Regions from separate parts of the Homo sapiens genome. Here all the other regions are linked to region 1. The links are contacts of gene promoters, found by promoter capture Hi-C in human tissues and cell types (Jung and others, 2019). All regions are on one chromosome and are shown on one strand. Each heading gives the region's core, a stretch centred on a gene start or on the middle of the fragment in contact. The rest is flanking DNA. Distances are from core to core; before and after follow the strand shown. Region 1 holds the start of SALL1 (spalt like transcription factor 1). Region 2 overlaps LOC102723323 (a long non-coding RNA gene). Region 3 has its middle 2.4 kb from the start of LINC02128. Region 4 overlaps LOC102723323 (a long non-coding RNA gene). Region 5 overlaps LOC102723323 (a long non-coding RNA gene).

Region 1 (2,509 bases), core at 3-2,502:
GGACCCGAGTCCGGGCGCCGCTACACCGCCTCGGGCGCTAGGCCTGGGAGCTTTGAGGCCGGTACCGTGAAACACCTTTAGGAGCAAGGAGGGATTCCAGGTGTCCTCCCTTTGTACCCCAACTCCCTGCCCGGATCTCTTCCACTCTCTGCCATAGCCCCCACACACAAACTTTGTTCTGGACTTGTTCAGCCCCTTCGGGACCCACAGTTGTCGCCTCCATCGGAGAAAACAAGTGCCCCTGTTTCAGGGGGGATTCCACTCTGGCTGGCCACCCGCAAACCTGGAAAACTATTCTATGACTTCTTCCCTGACCCCCCTGGAAGTAGGGAGCACCACGATCCGCAGAGGGCGCATACCGACCAGAAAGATTTTGGGGGGCAGAGGGTGCAAGTGTTGTGGGAAGAGATGCGGAGATAAATTTTGCGAGCCAGACCCCGACACTTTCCCCGTCCGTTTGCACCGTCTCCGGAACAACTGGCGGCCAGCAGCACTCTCCACCCCGGCCGCAACCCCAGCGGGTCAGGCGCTGGCGCCCCGACACCAGTCCCCATCTTCTTGCAGCTCTGAACCTCCAAAGACACCCGGTTCTGCCTCGCAGGCCGAGGGGGAGTGTGCGTGGGGGCAGGGGGGCGCAGCGAACTCCCCCACGCTCGGAGTTCAGCCCAGCGCCCGAAGTAAACTTCCTTACCGCTGGCAGCAAGGCCGGGCGGCGGAGGCCGGGCCGGGTGCCCTGGGGCCGGCGCCGGGAGCGCTAGGGGCCCCGTGCGGTCAGGCCGGGGCGACCTCCACCCGCACCCACGCCTCATGGGGCTCCCGGGTCTTGGCCGCGGCTGGGATCCCCGGAAAAGCAGGGACGGAGAAGCCAGGCCGGCATGCCCGCCCTCCTTCCCCCGGGAGGACCCAACAACTCCGGAAAGATCCTGCCGGGAGATGTGCTCGCTTTCCCCGGGGCAGCGGGGGAAAGCCCAGCAAAGGCACATTGAAAATTAAAAAGAAAAAAAAAATTACGCCGAGTGGAAGAAGCAATCGGGGCCGCGGCGGCGGTGAGGTAGGGGGCGCGGGGGCCAGCCGCGTGTGAGTGGGTCCGAGTGTGCGTGAGTGTGAGTGCGTGTGTGTGTGTCCACGGCGCGGGCCGGAGCACTCACCATCTCGCCGGGGGAGCGAGGCCACTTCGGGGTCGGATTGGAAATGTTGAGGCTTCGCTTGCTTCCTCCGCGACATGCTGGCTCAAACATCAGCTGGGGCAGAATAAAAAATTACTAAAAAAAAATCTTCTCAAAATTACGGAAATCGAGCGGCGGCGGCGGCGGCGGCTCCCCCCGCCCGCCGGCCCGCCCGCCCCCTCCCCGGCTCCCCGGCCCCGGGCGCAGCGCGCATGTGTCCTGCTATAATTATGATTATCAATAATGCATTGCGATTAATCATAGAGGGGCTCTTTGAAAGGCGATTGGCACCGGGCCAGCGCTATTCAAACCCGCTCGCCTTAATCAATTAGTTCGTGATTTGCTGCAGACCCCTGTCTCTCCGCGCGCTGGCCCAATAAGCCGGCCGCGGGGCTGGCTCTGCGCGCCGCGCCGCCCGACACTGGGTTAACCCTCTTTGCGACCGCCCGGGACTCCGCGGCCCGGCCGCCGGGGGCCGGCCTCCTCTCCACTGCGGGCCCGGCGCCCCGGCAGGCGCCCCCCGCTCTCTCCCTCTCCCCTCCCTCTTCCCTCCCTCCTTCGCCCCCCCCCACAATCCCGGGCTGGGCCGACCCAAATTAGCATGCCCTCCCCGGAATTGAGCCGCCCCGGGTGGGGGGTGGGGCCGGGCGGCGAGGGCTGGGGACCCGGGCTGCCGGCGCGCTGCGAACTTCCCAACTCGGGGGCGAGGCGCGCCGGCCCGCGGGGGGAGGGAGTCCCGCGGCGGGATCAGGGGGGAGGGCGTCCCGTTTCGTGAGTGTTTCTTCGTTTCTTTAAGAGCTACCAGAAAGCAGCCCACCCCCACCCCCATTAAAAAAAAAAATAAGCGAGTGGGGAAGAGCCAGCCCCACGCCGGTCCGCCTCCCGCCCACGGCTCGGCCTCCCTCCCGCCTGGCTCGGCGCTCCTCCGCCCCGAGTTCTCCATCCCCTGGATCCCGGGCTCGCGGGGGCGCGGAGAAGAGGATCCAGGAAAGGTTTGGGAACCTGATGGGTTTGTGGCTGGGGGGAGGGGCAGTTCTCCCGCCACCCCATCCCCTCCCCGCCAGGGGCACTGATCCTCCAGCTTCTTGCTTGCTCCCTCGCTCCCTTTCTCTACCTCGGACATTCCCAGGACAATTAGGGCTGAAGTTTTCGGGAGAAGCAGCCCCGAGCCCGTGGGATAAGGGGGCGGCCCGGCTCCGCCCAGGACCCCTCCCGGACCTCCCCCCCGGCTGCCCCGGTTGGCTGCAGGGCGCGTCACTCCGCGGGGAGGCGGCGGCAGCGGTGGCGCCGCAGAGCCCCGGGCGGGCGGAGAGCGGGGACCGGCCTGGGCTCCGAGTTCAGCT
Region 2 (2,509 bases), core at 6-2,505, 320 kb after region 1:
ATCTATAAATAGTACATTTTTATTGTTGAGTAGAGCTGCATGGTATGGATGTACCACATTTGTTTCACCATTCACCCGTTGAAAGATATTTAGGTTGCTTTCAGTTTGGAGATATTATAAACAAAGCTGCTATAAACATTTGCATACAGATGTGTGTAAACAGAAGTGTTAATCTTAGATGAATGCACAGGAGTGCAATTGCTAGACCCTATGGTGATTGCATGTTTCGTTCTTAAGGAAACTAACAAACTGTTTTTCAGATTGGCTGTGCCATTTCACATCCCCACCAGCAATATATGAATGGCCTAGTTTCTCTGTACCCTCGCCAGCATTTGGTGTTGTCATCTTTTTAATTTTAGCATTCTGAGAGATGTGTAGTGATATCTCATTGTAATTTTTCTAATGGCTGATGATGTTGAACATCCCCAGATCCCAAAGGCTATAGCCTATTTTTTTTTTTTTTAAGTGGTGGCCGGGCGCGGTGGCTCACATCTATTATCCCAGCACTTTTGAAGGCCGAGGTGGGCGGATCACATGAGGTCAGTAGTTCGACACCAGCCTGGCCAACATGGCCAAACCCCGTCTCTACTAATAATACAAAAATTAGCCGGACGTGGTGGCGTGCACCTGTAATCCCAGCTACTTGGGAGGCTGAGGCAGGAGAATCACTTGAACCTGGGAGGCAGAAGTTGCAGTGGGCCAAGACCATGCCATTGCACTCCAGCCTGGGCAGAAAGAGCAAAACTCCGTCTCAAAAAAAAAAAAGTTTCATAGTTGTACATCTTACATTTAAGTTTGTGATTCATTGTTTTCATACATTTATTAATTTTAATTGAAATATAATTCACAAACCATAAAATTTACCATTTTTAAGTATGCAATCCAGTGGTTTTTAGTATATTCACGAGATTGTGCCACGTCACTGCTATCTAGGTCCAGAACATTTTTACCGCCCCAAAATGAAACTCCACACCTGTTTGCAGTCACTCCCACTCTCCTCCCTGCAACTCCTGGCAAGCAGTAATTCACTTTCTGTCTCTATGGATTTTCTATTTCTTGACTTTTCAAACAAATAGAATTATATGACATGATATGTGACATTTTGTGTCGACTTCTTTTGCTTAGCATATTTTCAATGTTTATCCACTATAGCATATATCAAGCTTCATTTTTATGGCTGAATAATATTCCGTTGCATGTCTATACCATATTTATGTACCCTTTCATCAGTTGATGGGCATCTGGGTGGGTTCCACATTTTGTTTTTCATAAATAATGCTCCATGATGTTCTGTGAACATCATGTATACATTTTTGTATGAACATATGTTTCCAATCCCCTTGGGTATAGATCAAGAGTTGAATTGCTGGATCGTATGGTTAATTGTTTATTCTTTTGAGGAATCAACAAACTGTTTTTCACAGTGACAGCACCATTTTATACTCTCAGGGTATCAGGGCTTTAATTTTTCCATATTCCTGCCAATGCTTGTTATCTTCTGGTTGTTTTGTTTATTTTATAAGGGGCTATGTTAGGGAATGCAGTGTGGTATCTTGTGGTTTTGGTTAGCATTTCCCTAAGGACAAATGATATTGAGCAACTTTTCGTACTTTTTGGCCATTTGTAAATTACCATTGAAGAAGCGTTTATTCATATCCTTTGTTCATTTAAAAATTTATTTTATTTCTTTTTATTGTTGAGTTGTAAAAGGTCTTTATACATTCTGGATACTAGACCTTTATCAGAGATATGATTGACAGATATTTTCTGACATTGTGTGTATTATCTCTTCACTTTCTTGATTGTGTCCTTTGATGCACAAAAGTTTTAAATTTTGTTGAAGTCTAACATATCTATTTTTTTCTTTGGTTGCTTGTGCTTTTGGTGTCATATCTAAGAAACTATTGCCTAATTTAAGGTTACAAAGATTTAAACCTATGTTTTCATCTTTATTATTTTAGATATTAAATTTAGGTCTTTGATTCCTTTTTGATTTATTTTCTTTTTTGTTTTTCTTTTTGAGATGGACTCTTGCACTGTTGCCCAGGCTGTAATGCAGTGGCATGATCTCCGCTGGCTACAACCTCTGCCTCCTGGGTTCAAGCAATTCTCTTGCCTCAGCCAACGAGTTAGCTGGGATTACAGGTGCCCACCACCACGCCCAGCTAATTTTTTTGTATTTTTAGTAGAAACGGGGTTTCACTATGTTGTCTAGGTTGGTCCTGAACTCCTGACCTCGTGATCCACCGCCTCGGCTTCCCATAGTGCTGGGATTACAGGTGTGAGCCACCATGCCTGGCCAATTTATTTTCTATATATGATGTGAGGTAGTGGTCCAAATTTTTTTTTTCGTGTAGCTACTTAATTGTCTTATTGCCATTTGTTGAAAAGAATATTCTTTCTCCATTGAACGGTTTTGGTAACTTTGTCAAAAATCAATTGACCATAGATGTATGGGCCCATTTCTGGTTCTTGATTCTATCAAATTGATCAATAGGTCTATCCTTAT
Region 3 (2,509 bases), core at 5-2,504, 310 kb before region 1:
CATATTTATTAATGTGCAGCTGGTGCATTGTATTCCGAGGGTTGGTGGTGGGAGTGTCTCTCCCCCCACCCCCACGCCACCCGCCTTGTTCCTCTAATGTGTCTTGCCTGGCAGGCTGGTATTGTTCTGTAACTGACATTACTTTATAAGAATCAGAGCTGCGCACATTTAATAGGAGTTATGGAGACAATTGCTCTCTGAGCGGTTGGGGTCTCTGTGACGTAGGTGCCATCTGAGCCTCAGTTTCTGTTCTGGGAGTGGACAGAATGGGCAATGGAGGTATTTTTAGGCAGATGTACCTGAGATACTGTTGATGGGGAAGCCCCCAGCACCTTCACTGCCACCCCTACACCACAGCCTGGGTCCCATCCATGAAGGCCATGGCTCCTGCCCACATGTCTGTGCTCTCTCTAAACGTGGGAACAAATTTATTTTGATGCTTATTGAGATTAAACTTGCTGCGCATTTCATCGGGAACAGGGGTTGGATCTGTTCATTAGGTGGGGAGGCTCACCTTGTCAATTTCCATTGAGCACTGGCAAAAGCGACCACTTTATCATCATTTGTCAGCAGCCTCGACAGGTTTTACTCAGCTCTGATTCCTCCTGGGCCCTGCTGTCATAACTTCATTGGCTTTATGGTAGCAGCTGAGTTCCCTTAGGTAATTGTCTAATAGATCTATTTTGCCTTAATATTGGTAATTCACTAAATGTAAAAGAACGCAGAAGAGAGGCTGAAACATTAAACACCAGACATGCCACACACTCCTGCAACAACCCCAGCCCCACCCTAAACTACTGTCTCCATCCATCTTTGGAAATCCCATTATATTTAGTAGGAGGGGATTGGTCTTTTTCAGCTTTGAAAAATTGGAGCTGAGACTTCAGCCTCCCTCTGGTCTTATGGGCCAAAGGAATTTAACATGGGATCGTGGAAAGGGCTCTGGGCCAGGGCTCAGGGGCATGTGGCTCCTGGGGCCCAGGGCTGGCAGCACCTTTTTCCTTTTTGGGCCTCAGTCTTCCTATCTGTTTATCAGCAGGATGCCAAGGTTCTCACCCTCAGGATCACATGGGGGCCAAGCAGCAATGGAGATGGGCTAGTGAGCTGGATGGGGACGGTGGCAAGCTGGAGGGCACATGCCTCTCTGCCTGGAGGGGCAGCCACTACAGGTTGCCTTGGGCCAATGCAGGCCTGGTGGACCCAGAGGCTTAAGTTTTAATTTTATTTTACTATATTTTTCTTTTCCTGTTTTTATTTGGTTTGTTTGTTTGTTTTTTGTTTTGAGACATGATCTCACTCTGTTGCCCAGACTGGAGTGCAGTGGTTCGATCACAGCTTACTGCAGCAATTGTAGTCCCTCTGGGCTCAAGCAATCCCACGACCTTAGCCTCTGAGTAGCTGGGACTACAGGTGCGTGCCACCATACCCAACCTTTTTTTTTTTTTTTTTTTTTTTGTAGAGATGGAGTCTTACTATGTTGCCCAGGCTGGTCTTGAACTCTTGGACACAAGTGATCCTCTCTCCTTGGCCTCCCAAAGTGCTGGGATTACAGGCATGAGCCACTGTGCCCCACTGAGGTTTGGATTTTTAAACAAAAACTAGGATTCTAAATTTATATGTCTACTGTTTTAATGTTTTAGTACTGGCACTGAATTTAAAAAAGCATTCTTAATAAAATAAAATGTCTGCTGGCAATGATGAGTTATGGTGATGACAATGGTGATTAATGATAGCTAACATTAGTGAGCGCTCATCATGTATCAGGGTCAGTTTTGGACTGGTTTCATCCTTACAACAATGCTAAAAGACATGTCCTGGTGTTGTCCCTGTTTCACAGGTGAGGAAATGGAAGCACAGTGAGTAACTTGCCCAAGATCACTGTCTTTGCTGCTCAGTTGATTGGGTAATTGACTTCCAGGAAATTAGAGATCTACTGACAAGGTACCCTGGGCCTGCGTGGAAAATATGACATCAAGATAGATTTCCTGGCAAAGGCCAACTTATTACAACATTCCACTTAGAAAAAAAATCTATGCACTTAAAAAAAACCACAGCCAGGCACAGTGGCTCATGCCTATAATCCTAGCAGTTTGGGAGGCTGAGGCAGGAGGATTGCATTAGATCAAGAGTTTGAGACCAGCCTGGGTAACACAGCAAGACTGTCTGTACAAAAAATATTTAAAAAACCAGCCATGCCTGGTGGTGCACACCTGTAGTTCTAGCTACTTGGGAGGCTGAGGTGGGAGGATAGTTGGAGCCCAGGAGTTCGAGGCTTCAGTGAGCTATGACTGCACCATTGCACTCCAGCCTGGGTGACAGAGCGAGACCCTGTCTCAAAAAACAAAAACAAAAAAACCAACACACTTGTTTTCTGGAAGATTTTACCTATATACTACCACTGTCCTTCAGAACCATGGGTTTTCCTTAAGTAGCAGGGAATAACCATGTTGATTACTAAGTCGCAGGCCAGAAGGAAAGAACTTGACTTGGGATTTCCTGAATTTATTAC
Region 4 (2,509 bases), core at 3-2,502, 310 kb after region 1:
CTCACCTTTCCCCACCTCCAATCGTAAAAATACCAAAGTCTCATTCAGAGACACACTTGTCCACACAGAGCGGCCCGATTTGCCATCTGAGCGTCAGAAACACCTCAGACAAATCTTTCCTCAGGCAAGGAAATAGACAAATCAGTGTTTGGGCTTAGGATTCTCTTCCTGATTCTTCTTAGGGAGGAGGCTTGAGGATCCTACAGTTTTACAAATAAGACTAAAGCTTGCTGTGGTGGGAGATCACTGGTTTGGGGTCCTGATGCTTGATTTATATCCTTGAGGACTCTACATGTTTTCTTAGTCATTAAACCCTGTTTACCAGACCAAGTCTAAAATCTTGGTGGAGTCTGGATCCCTGGTATTTAGATTCAATGAGATGAATGCCTCAGAAATCACTCAGGTGAGAATCATCTCATTACAGTCTCATATGCACGCTATGGCATTAATGACTCTCTCTTTGTCAGATGCTAAGTGCAAAAAAAAAAAAAAAAAAAAAGAACTAACCCAAAAACATTCCTCTGAATATGTTTTTTATCTTCAAAAAGACCATCTTTCCCACCAACCAAGGCTTTTACTTATCTTTTTCTAGAGTGATTGCAGAGAAAATCAACTGTAAGAACTTTGCCACTGAACAATTAACTAATCATGTATCCACTTCCAATTGGGCTTATTTACTGAGCTTCAGCACTTAGGTGGGACACTTGGAGAAAGTGGGAACAGACTTTGTGCTAAGCTCAAAATAGACCCTTGTTTAACCCTTGTAAGAAAAACAGAGAAGAAGAAGGAGGAGCAGGGGAAGGAAGCAGAGGAGGAGAAAAGAAGATAAAGGAGGAGGAAAGAAGATTCTTTTTCTCTAAGATCTCACACTTCAACCAGGTTGGCAAGCCTAATGCCTCAGTATGACCTAAGAATTGAAGGCAGTTAGTAAAGCGTTGTTGTGCCAGGTGACCCCAGAGGAGAGGTCTATGTAAGCATTGAAAAATGAGATGCCAGGATTGGACAAAGGGACTGGGAGAGGTTCTTTAGGAAGAAGAAATTTATCCTTTCTTAAACGTCTCTTTTAATGGTGAAGACATATAGAGGTCTGGCAACCTGTCCCAAGCCATTCAGCCACAGGGGGAGAGCAGTGACCAGGACACCAGGGCAGCTATGCTAAGTCCAGTGCATCTCCCACAAGGCAGCAGTGACTTGTGTCTTCCTCCCTCACTCTGTCCCTCCTTCTCTTCCTTCTGCCTTCCTCCTTTCTTTCTTTATCCCTTCCATTAGTTGTTCAAGAAATATTCTGATTAGCAGAGTTGTCAAGTCCTCTCTGTACAGACTAACACTGTTTAAGGCATGGAGGAGGTGTTGGTATGCTTGGTGGGTCAGAGCTTAGACTTTGGAGAGCTCTAGGCTTCAATTCAAATTGTTGTTCACAGGTACCAGCAATTAGCTATGTGTCCAGGCCTAGTTATTTAACTCCATTAATCTGAGGGATTCTCCTCCATACGGTGGGATAATTATAATACATACTTTGAAGGATTTTGTGAAGAACAAAATGAAGTAATTCATATAAAGCAAAAAAAGAGTCACTAATATTATTAGTTTTGCTATCAGAAAATACCCAACAAAACAAAACTGGCTCAACATATCTTTATCTTTTATATTTCGGAGAACATACTGGGATCATCCTGAGAAGCTTCAGTTATCACTGTTGGAAAGAAGTTCAGAGGGACTGGGAAATCAAAATTTCTGCCCTTAAAAAAAACACAATGGCACTGAAAATCAAGCTTTAACTTGCTACAAAATGCTGAGTAGAAGAGAATGAAAGAAAAGCAAAAGCAGAGAGGCTGAATCACATGCTCAGGTGCCTTAGCAAGGACAGAATGATGTCTAAGGCCTGGAAGAATCTGTGACTTCAAAGGTTCTGCAGTGCCCACGCTGCAGAAGTGGTGCTTTGAGAGAAGGCCTCTGTCTGGGACATGAGATGAGGCATCTCCAAATGAAGTTTTCAGGCCCAGCCCCCATCTCTCCTCATCTTTTGCTGGTGACAGAGATGCATCATGGACATCAGAAATCTTGATTCTCTAGGACTTCTTCTTCTTTTTTTTTTTTTTTTTTTTTTTTTTTTTGACAGAGTCTCACTCTGTCACCCAGGCTAGAGTGCAGTGGCACAATCTCAGCTCACCTCCGCCTCCTGGGTTCAAGCACTTCTCCTCAGCCTCCCGGGTAGCTGGGATTACAAGTGAATGCCACCACGGCTGGCTAACTGTTCTATTTTTTTTTTTTTTTAGTAGAGATGGGGCTTCACCATGTTGGTCAGGCTGGTCTTGAACTCCTGACCTCGTGATCCACCCCCTCGGCTTCCCATAGAGCTGGGATTACAGGCATGAGCCACCACACCCGGCCCTTAGGATTTCTTCTTAAATGTCTTTCTGTAAGGCCCAGAATCTTTCTCTGCTCTACAAAGTCATTCCACATTAATATCAAAATCGAAGAGAACCTTGCCACTCTAAGACCTCAGGAT
Region 5 (2,509 bases), core at 4-2,503, 280 kb after region 1:
GGTGATCCACCCACCTCGGCCTCCTGAAGTGCTGGGATTATAGGCATGAGCCACCGCACCTGGTCAGGAATATAGTTCTTGTTTTTAACCATCCTGCTCAAAATTAGGGTTCAAAATCAGCTCTTAACCCTCAGGGCTCAAAATCAGCTCTTTGGGGCATATAAGTATGGGAGGAGGGTGAGGCTGGTGTTATAAATTCAGAAGTCTTGCTGTCTTTCTCCACTTTCATTGTGTTCCCGTTTTCATTAATTCCTGTACCCAGAGTTTCTCTTTCCTCCAATAGCACATTATCTTCTCCCCATTAAAGCCTCTCATAGACATCACAAACAGTAGCTACTTGGAGGGCAGGGTCTTACTCACCTGTGGCCTAAGCTCACCTTCAATACAACCAACACAATCTAATCAAGACCAGTATTCTGTTATGTGTGTTTTATTAGAAACCATTTCTTCAGGATATATATATCCATTTCTCTATAGATATAGACATAGTTATTACATAGGTGTAAATTAAAAGATATATTTAAAATACAAATACATGTTTTAGAATTTTATGGCCAAATATATTTGGGCATCATTGTGTTAAACACAATTGAATACATTTTTCTGTTGTTGCAGATGCTTTAACAGAATAGTGTGCATTGTGATTCTCCAAGAAAGGGTTATTGTTGCAGCATTTCTCTACTTACTGGAACAAGAACCCTTATTTCTTGGAGGAGCTTATAGAACTACTGTCACTCCAAACCTGCTTGGGAGCATGACTTGCTTTAGGAGTTGTACTTATAGAGGATTTCTTTAACGAGGTCAAGCTGGGACTAGGTATGTTTTAGTGTCTTGTGCCAACTGGCTGATTTTGGAAGCTAAAAGAAGAATTAGCAGGAGGGTGAATTGTCTTTTATTTAGAGTTTAAAAACAGCTCCAGGGCATGTTTACCCAATAGGTTCTGCCCTACTAGTCATTAGGAAAGAAAACTTCTTGTACTTTGTGTGTTTTTATTTTGTGATCTTTCCCTAAAGAGCCAAGAGAGATCTCTGTCATTCTATCAAAGATATGATAAAGTCTCTCTCGATTTCACCCCTTGGTTCACCATTCCTTATGGGCATCATCTATGTGAGAGACACTAAGCCCAGTTCTACGGAGGTTATGAAGGGAACAAGTCTTGTTTTCTTCTCGCAATGTTGTAATTGAAGTATAAATAGAAGCATAATTTGGGAATTACTACTTGTCCTTTCTCATCAATCACCACTCTTTAAGCGTGCCACTGGGATAATTCTAAAAGTGCTAAGTCCTTCCTCTCAATTCCTTCCCTGACAATATCTGAAAGGGTTTTAGGAAGTATAGTAATATTTGAGTTGTATGCAAATTTCCTCTGCAGGAAAACATGGAGACGGTGGCTGGGGTATCGGTTGCACACAGTCTAAACATTCCCTGCAGTCTTAATTAACCACATTTGCTTTCCTCTTGCTTCAGGCTGAGTCAGCCCAACCACCACTGAAGCCAGTTACCAGCCTGTGTGATCACGTGATGTGTGACTACATCTTGGCCTGTGATAAACGATCGTGTCTCTTGACCCACAGGAGTTTGTAACATTCTTTTAGTGTATACCGAGTCATTACTATTGCACTGAACCAAAGTAAATGAATGTCTACTGCCATTGTCATAGAAAAAGAGGAAAGAAGGAAGGAAGGAAGGAAGGAAGGAAGGAAGGAAGGAAGGTAGGATCATCTGCTCTATATAAACTCCCCTGATCCTCCCAGGCGCAACTGAAGGATTTGTGCTTTCACAAAGCTTTGCGTAGACCTGCGCCTGGTTGTGCATTCTTTTCAGTCAGTCACTGTGGTAAGGTAGTAATTGCATGCCTGGGTTTAAATAATGATTCAACCCTTATCAATTGGCCATGTGAATCCAGGCAAACTATTTAAACTTTGTAAACTTCTCTTGCTAAGCCCTTAACTTTGTACTGGCCTAGCCCTAACTACTCTACACATATTAACTCATTGTTTCCTTTTGACAATGTTATAGGATGGTACTTCATTAACCCCAATTTACAACCAAGGCCAAGTAACGTCTCCAGGGTTGATGGGTGCATTTCCTTGTGAGGGTGAAATGAGATAGATAATCAGTGTAAAACCCTTCTTAGCACAGTGCTTGGTCCATAGTTAGCACATCAAATTATAATTTTCATTCATTAGTTTTTAAGATAAAGTTTACATAATATTATAATGTGTTAGGCATTATTCTAAATGTTTTAGACATATCATCTCATTCAACTCTATGAAGTAGGTATAGTTTTCATGTCCATTTCATAGATGAGGAAAGTGAGGCACAGACAGGTAAGAGATCTGCCCAAGGTCACACAGCTGTTTAGTGGTGGAGACTAAATTGCATCTCAGAAAGCCTGGCTCAGAGATCGCACTCTTAGTCTTTATAATAAACGATCACTAATATTGTTGTTTGTTTAAGTGTCTGTAGGCACCCATTTGCCCATGACTTTGGACAGGGACTGTTTCAC

What was found. Contacts are between HindIII fragments. The study calls those that stand out against the background at their distance.
Region 2: a contact is called between a fragment that was not itself captured here and the fragment with the promoter of SALL1 in region 1, in 2 of the 25 tissues and cell types used here (H1 embryonic stem cells and mesenchymal stem cells).
Region 3: a fragment that was not itself captured here is called in contact with the fragment with the promoter of SALL1 in region 1 in 2 of the 25 tissues and cell types used here (dorsolateral prefrontal cortex and hippocampus).
Region 4: a fragment that was not itself captured here is called in contact with the fragment with the promoter of SALL1 in region 1 in 3 of the 25 tissues and cell types used here (H1 embryonic stem cells, mesendoderm cells and thymus).
Region 5: a fragment that was not itself captured here is called in contact with the fragment with the promoter of SALL1 in region 1 in 2 of the 25 tissues and cell types used here (H1 embryonic stem cells and dorsolateral prefrontal cortex).

What each region holds. Positions count from the first base shown.
Region 1 is chr16:51,150,018-51,152,526 of GRCh38, forward strand. SALL1 (spalt like transcription factor 1) reads right to left here and starts at 1,253. Exons shown (of 3, transcript NM_002968.3): 1 at 1,149-1,253. The coding sequence starts at 1,224. RefSeq lists an enhancer at 450-950. The HindIII fragment of the contact is 9,229 bases long and covers 1-2,509 here.
Region 2 is chr16:51,471,726-51,474,234 of GRCh38, forward strand. The region is part of intron 2 of LOC102723323 (a long non-coding RNA gene); the gene reads right to left. Among named protein-coding and RNA genes, the nearest start is that of HNRNPA1L3, 170 kb to the right of the region's middle. The HindIII fragment of the contact is 3,503 bases long and covers 1-2,509 here.
Region 3 is chr16:50,836,445-50,838,953 of GRCh38, forward strand. No RefSeq gene overlaps it. Among named protein-coding and RNA genes, the nearest start is that of LINC02128, 2.4 kb to the right of the region's middle. RefSeq lists an enhancer at 1-743. The HindIII fragment of the contact is 9,915 bases long and covers 1-2,509 here.
Region 4 is chr16:51,455,287-51,457,795 of GRCh38, forward strand. All of the region lies in intron 2 of LOC102723323 (a long non-coding RNA gene), which reads right to left. Among named protein-coding and RNA genes, the nearest start is that of HNRNPA1L3, 190 kb to the right of the region's middle. The HindIII fragment of the contact is 3,931 bases long and covers 1-2,509 here.
Region 5 is chr16:51,430,231-51,432,739 of GRCh38, forward strand. The region is part of intron 2 of LOC102723323 (a long non-coding RNA gene); the gene reads right to left. Among named protein-coding and RNA genes, the nearest start is that of HNRNPA1L3, 210 kb to the right of the region's middle. The HindIII fragment of the contact is 3,903 bases long and covers 1-2,509 here.